Regions from separate parts of the Homo sapiens genome. Here region 1 is linked to region 2. The links are contacts of gene promoters, found by promoter capture Hi-C in human tissues and cell types (Jung and others, 2019). All regions are on one chromosome and are shown on one strand. Each heading gives the region's core, a stretch centred on a gene start or on the middle of the fragment in contact. The rest is flanking DNA. Distances are from core to core; before and after follow the strand shown.

What was found. Contacts are between HindIII fragments. The study calls those that stand out against the background at their distance.
Region 1: a contact is called between a fragment that was not itself captured here and the fragment with the promoter of SIN3B in region 2, in 1 of the 25 tissues and cell types used here (dorsolateral prefrontal cortex).

What each region holds. Positions count from the first base shown.
Region 1 is chr19:16,670,908-16,674,122 of GRCh38, reverse strand. The region is part of intron 1 of TMEM38A (transmembrane protein 38A); the gene reads right to left. Among named protein-coding and RNA genes, the nearest start is that of TMEM38A, 11 kb to the right of the region's middle. The HindIII fragment of the contact is 5,585 bases long and covers 1-3,215 here.
Region 2 is chr19:16,827,716-16,831,141 of GRCh38, reverse strand. SIN3B (SIN3 transcription regulator family member B) reads right to left here and starts at 1,744. Exons shown (of 19, transcript NM_001297595.2): 1 at 1,602-1,744; 2 at 1,245-1,351. The coding sequence starts at 1,721. RefSeq lists a silencer at 1,597-1,776 and an enhancer at 1,517-2,018. The HindIII fragment of the contact is 27,079 bases long and covers 1-3,426 here.

The DNA of each region.
Region 1 (3,215 bases), core at 335-2,834, 160 kb after region 2:
ATGAACCACAGCGCCTGGCCCTGGACACTTTTTTTAAGAGACAGCATCTCGCTCTGTCACCCAGGCTGGAGTGCAGTGATGCAATCATAGCTCACTGCAGCCTCAAACTCCTGGGCTTGAGCCTTCCAAGTAGCTAGGAGTACAGACGTGTGCCACCATGCCTGGCCAATTTTTATACTTTTTTTTTTTTCTTTTTTTGTAAAGATAGGATCTCACTGTGTGGCCCAGGCTGCTCTTGAACTCCTGGCTTCAAATGATCCTCCTGCCTTGGCCTCCCAAAGTGCTGGGATTTCAGGTGTGAGCCACCAGCAGGCCTGCGCATTTCTGGTGACATTGTAACAACAATGACCTTCTCTGTTCCATTTATTAATTGAGAAAGGTGTAGTGCACTCTACTCTGTAAAAGGAATTACGTTCTTCTTAGCTTGGTCAACCTCACAGGGGGAAATAATCATCAATGCCAGAGTTTCTCCTACAAATCCAGGTGAGCGCATCAGTGGGCATTACCATGTTAGAGGCAACTTGGCAATACCAGGGAAATATGAAGCTGTGCATCCCCTGGACCCCAGCAATTCCACTCCTTGCTATTAACCCCAAAGAAACAAGCACCATAAACAAAGACTTAGAGAAGGAAGATGTTTCACTGATACAATGTTGCAACAGGAGAAAAGTGAAATCAACAGTCTCTTAGTAAAGCTGTGGGAAGCCACAAAATGTGGAGTGCCATAGAGTAGCTATTTAAAAGTGAACCAGGCTGGGTGCAGTGGCTCACCCAGCACTTTGGGAGGCCAAGGCAGGCGGATCACTTGAGGTCAGGAGTTTGAGACCAGCCTGGCCGACATGGTGAAACGCTGTCTTTACTAAAAATACAAAAATTAGCCAGGCATGGTGGCAGGTGCCTGTAATCCCAGCTACTCAGGGGGCTGAGGTAGGAGAATCGCTTGAACCCGGGAGGTGGAGGTTGCAGTGAGCCAAGATTGCGCCACTGCACTCCAGCCTGGGCGACAGAGGGAGGCTCCATCTCAGAAACAAACAAACAAACAAACAAACAAAAAGAAAAAGAAAAGTGAACTAGACCTTGATCAGGGTTTTTCAACCTCAGCTCTGTTGACATTTGGGATCAGATCATTTTTTGCTATGGGGGCATTCTGTGCATTATAGCATGTTAAGCAGCATCCCTGGCTTCCACCCACTAGATGACAGTGGCACCACACAGCTGTGACAACCAAGAATGTCTCCAGATATTGCCAAATTTATCCTTTGGGAACAGAATCCCTTCTGGTTGAGAATCTCTGTTTTAGATGTATCAACAAAGACAAGTCCCATAAGCTTACTGCTGAGTGAAAAGGTTGGGCTGCAAAATGATACACTTATGGCCGGGCTCAGTGGCTCACACCTGTAATCTCAACACTTTGGGAGGCCAAGGCAGGTGGATCACTTGAGGTCAGGAGTTCGAGACCAGCCTAGCCAACATGGTGAAACCCCCATCTCTACTAAAAATACAAAAAGTAGCCGGGCGTGGTGGCATGCGCCTGTAATCTCAGCTACTTGGGAAGCTGAGACATGAGAATCACTTGAATTCAGGAGGTGGAGGTTGCAGTGAGCCAAGGTCACACCACTGCACTCCAGCCTGGGCCACAGAGCAAGACTCTGCCTCAAAAAAAAAAAAAAAAAAAATGAGGTTTTTTTGTGATTTTTTTTTAAGCTCATCAGCTATCGTTAGTGTGAGTGTATTTTATGTGAGGCCCAAGATAATTCTTCATCAAACATGGCCCAGGGAAGCCAAAAGATTGGACATCCCTGTTTTAGAGTAAGTAATCAATACACTTGCCCCTCTCCTCGCTATCCCCACCAACTAACAATGTGATCTTGAACAAGCCACTTTTTTCTCTCCACATCTCTTTTTTTAAAAAACAAAGTAGAACGTTGCTTCTTTGTCTAACTCCTGATGAGGACTGGAATGAGCTTTTCCCTCCTCTAACCTCACCCTGGAGTTATGAGCCCAAAATGCAGCTTCTCCCTGCTCTCAAGGTTGTCCTACGTCTTACCATTGACCAAGGTCCTAGGGTATGAGGTAAAATGCTTCAGCTCCTCTCCTAGGGTCTATTTAAAACACAACTGGCTGAGAGTTAATCCCTCAGAGCAGCTGGTGGCCTGTGCAGAGGCCAGGTCGGGTGAGGCACCCATGTTTTGCAGAAATGGATACCTCTGCATCTAAAAATAACTCCCAGGGACTGAATTCTTTCCAGGATCTTTCTTGTGCCCTCTGGGATCATCCCAGGGACCGAGGTTGGGGAGTGGGGGTAGGGACCTAGCGTTTGCATGAGTTACGCTCTGACGGGCAGATGCCCATGTTTGCAGTATGTGTGTGCCCTGCTATAAAAGTCACATGCCGGCTGGGCGCGGTGGCTCACACCCGTAATCCCAGCACTTTCGGAGGCCAAGGCAGGCAGATCACTTGAGCTCAGGAGTTCAAGACCAGCCTGGGCAACATGGCAAAACCTCATCACATGCCTAGCTTCTGGCTCTGCTACTCACTCTAGCATGGCCTTGGGCAAGTGACTGCCTGCCCCCCCAAGCCTTAGTTTGCTTCACTGTCAAAAGACCAAGATGACGGCCAGGCGCAGTGGCTCACACCTGTAATCCCAGCATTCTGGGAGGCCGAGGCAGGTGGATCACTTGAGGTCAGGAGTTTGAGTTTGAGACCAGCCTGGCCAACATGGTGAAACCCCGTCTCCACTAAAAATACAAAAATTAGCTGGGTATGGTGGCGGATGGCTATAATCCCAGCTACTCAGGAGGCTGAGGCAGAATTGCTTGAACCCAGGAGGCGGAAATTGCAGTGAGCCAAGATCGTGCCACTGCACTCCAGCCTGAGTGACAGAGTGAGACTCCGCCTCAAAAAAAAAAAAAAAAAAAAAAGCCCAGGTCCTTTCCCCTTTCCATACTCCTTGGTTTCTCTTGATGGGTTTGGGACAGCCCCATGAAGCCAATAGGTTTTCAACTGCCGCATGCCATGAACACATTCCCCTCTGACTGGGTGAGCTTAGGCTAGTCCCTCCCTTCCCTGGGCCTCAGTTTGCCCATATGTAGGAGGGGGAGGCGGTCTAGGGTGACCAACTATCCCCCTTTGCCTGGGTCCCAGGGGTTTCCTGGGACATGGGACTTTCTTTTATTCTTTTTTTGAGATGGGGTCTTGCTCTGTCGCCCAGGCTG
Region 2 (3,426 bases), core at 495-2,994:
GCAGTGAGCCCAGATCACACCACTGCACTCCAGCCTGGGCGACAGCACGAGAATCCATCTCAAAAAAAAAAAAAAAAGTGCCCCCATGTGATAGCATCTGTACACCATGACCTATCTCCTGACTGGCTAGGCCTGAGCTCCCTGTTCCCTCCTGGTGAGAACCAGAGAATACTGACATCGCTCAGCTCCCCTAAAACACTCCAAGAATGGGTACTCGGTTCTGAAAATGTCAGGAGAGCCAACCGCAAGGCCTGGACTCCAAGAAATGGCAGGAGGCCAAAGTCCTCTAAGCAATGTGAAAACTTCCCTCATTTTGTATCAGATAGAGATGACTATGACACAGGTTTCCATCTGAGCAAACAATTGCAATGCATAAATACCAATGGTACTGCCAAGAATGGGAAAGGTGTAAGAAAAATAGGAGGGGAGAGATGGGGTCTCCCTTCTGGCTGCATTGCAGCCCAGCCCTTAGCACTGGGCTCCCGGAAGGAAACCAGGCCAGCCCCACCATGTTTCCTAAGAGGGGGCAGCAGTATGGTAAGCATGTGACTTCCAAGAATCTGAGTCAGAGGGTCTGAGTTCTAGTGACACCTCTGCCACTTAGGTGGGTCCCTTACCCACTCCAAACCTCAGTGAGTCTCCTATAAAAACAAGGGCATGATCCCAGGGTTTCCCATCTATCTGTAATCTTCCTTGATTCTGGGCCTGCAAAATCATCTCATGTGTTTTAAACGTTTTCTGTGTGCCAGCTCCCTTACTAAGCATTTTATGCGTCTTACTTCCAAGCAGGCCTGGGACCACAGTGAGCCCAGAGAAGCATCTTGAGGACAAGATTAAAGGGGAAGAGGGTGCCAAAAATTTCAATCATCAAGACAATAACATTTTACAGCGCTTGAAAATAAAAATCAAAATGGGTCCCACCAAATCTTTCATGAACAAAACTAATATAAAAATCAACATATTAAATCAAGGCAGGATTTGACTCTATGAGTGTGCACGGCCTCGCCCTCCCTGCCTCCCCCCAGATCCCTGTCCTGCTTCCAGGAATCCCCACAAAGCTCCACAAGGTGGGTACTACCCATTTCCATTTTTGTTACGAGAAGGAGCTAGGGCTCTGAGAGATTGGACAACCTGCGCAAGGTCACCCGGCTAAGGGGGCAGGCTGGAGAGGGGAGGTCTCACCCCGCTAGGCCCGATTCCGGCCCAGGGGGGTCCCCTGAGGTGGAGAGGGGCCCCGCTGGTACCTCTGGCTTTTGAACTCCTTCATGATCTCCAGGAAGCCGTTGTAGGTGGCAGGGTCGCTGCCAAAGCGGATCTTCACCTGGTCCAGATAGGTGAGGGCGTCTTCTACCTGCAGAGAGGGGGAGGGTCCCGGTGGGCCCTGGCCGCGGAACGAGGGGACGAGGGGCCGGGGTCCCTGAGGGGAAGGGGATGGGCTGGGCTTTCGGAGGGCCGAGGTGAGAGGTGAGGGGTGAGGGGTCCGGGGCAGTGCAGAGGGGAGGCCGAGGTGGGGCTGGGGCCGGGCGGGGCCTGGGTGAGGGGCGCCCGCCCGCGGGGTCCAGAAGATGGGTTCCCCGAGGGAGGGCGGGGACGCCACTCACGTGCACCGGCAGCTTCTCGTGGCCTGCGGAGCCCGAGCGACCCCAGCGGGCGCCGCTCAGCCCCCGGCCCGCGGGGCCGCCGGCACCGCTGCCACCGCTGCCACCGCCAGCGTGCGCCATGTCCGAAGTCGGAGCTGCGCCCCGCCCCGCCCCCGCCCGAGGTCCTGCCGCGCATGCGCAGCCTCCGCCTTTGGAGGCGGGGTTTGATGACGTTGAGGGGCGGTGCTCTTTGAGGGACTCTTCTGAAGACCTTCTCCTTAAGATTGGTATCATAATTAATGATTTATATAGCAGGGGTAGGCGAGCCAAGACCCGCCGCCTACTTTGTCCGGCCCCGCAAGCTCAGAATTATTTTTACATGTTTACATAGCCGGGGGAAAAATCCAAAGAAGAATAGTCTATGACCTGTGAAAAGTTTGTGAAATTCACATTTGAGGGTCCCTGAATAAAGTTTTATTAGCACACAGACACGCCCACGCGTTTACCTGGCTTCTCTGCCTGCTTTCGCCTTACAACAGAGTAGGTAGTTGCTAAAGATCCTACAGATCTGCAGACCCTGAAGTATTTACGATCTGGCCTTTTATGGAAAAAGTTTGTTGGCCCCTGCTTTATAGAGTTGACGGGACGATGAGGTATGAGCCCCCAGCGCCCTAATATAGGGCCTTGCGTGGTGAATTTTTGCTAAATGGCCTTTAAGTTAGTCCTACTCCTCCCATCTTCACTTCCCTATCCTTGGCCCCGTCACTTCCCATCTGGACCAGTTTAGGAGCCTCCTAACTCTGGTACTTTCTTTTTTTTTTTTTTTTTTTTTTTTTTTTTTTGAGACAGAGTCTCGCTCTGTCGCCCAGGCTGGAGTGCAGTGGCGCGATTTCCGCTCACTGCAAGCTCCGCCTCCCGAGTTCACACCATTCTCCTGCCTCAGCCTCCTGAGTAGCTGGGACTACAGGCGCCCGCCACTGCGCCCTGCTAATTTTTTGTACTTTTAGTGCCACCCCACCTGGCTCTAACTCTGGTACTTTCTCAGCCCTGATACTATCAAGAACTCTAGGCTGGGGATGGTGGCTCACGCCTGTAATCCCAGCACTTTGGGAGGCCGAGGCGGACGGATCACGAGGTCAGGAGATAGAGACCATCCTGGCTAACACGGTGCAACCCCGTCTCTACTAAAAATACAAAAAATTAGCCGGGCCTTGAAAAAAAGAAAAAGAAAATGAAAAAATTGGCTGGGCGCCGTGGCTCACGCCTGTAATCCCAGCACTTTGGGACGCCGAGGCGGGCAGATCACCTGAGGTCTGGAGTTGGAGATTAGCCTGACCAACATGGAGAAACCCCGTCTCTACTAAAAATACAAAATTAGCCGGGCTTTGTGGCGCATGCCTGTAATCCCAGCTACTCGGGAGGCTGAGGCAAGAGAATTGCTTGAACCCGGGAGGCGGAGGTTGCAGTGAGCCAAGATCACGCCATTGCACTCCAGCCTGGGCAACAAGAGCAAAAACTCTGTCTCAAAAAATTAATTAATTAATTAATTAAATAATAAAATAAAATGAAAAAATTAGCTGGGCGTGGTGGTGCACACGTTTAGTCCCAGCTACTCGGGAGGCTGAGGCAGGATTGCTCATGCCCAAGAGTTCAAGGCTGCAGTGAGCCATGATCTTGCCACTGCACACCCCAGCCTGGGAAGCATAGCAGTGCTTTTTTTTTTTTTTTTTTTTAAAGAGCATCTCATCTCTTAAAAAAAAAAAAACAGAAAAACAAAAAACTCCACTTTTTCCACCACTCCTTCCAAACCTCCAAGGTCTTCCTATTTCTAATGAGATGAAATCTA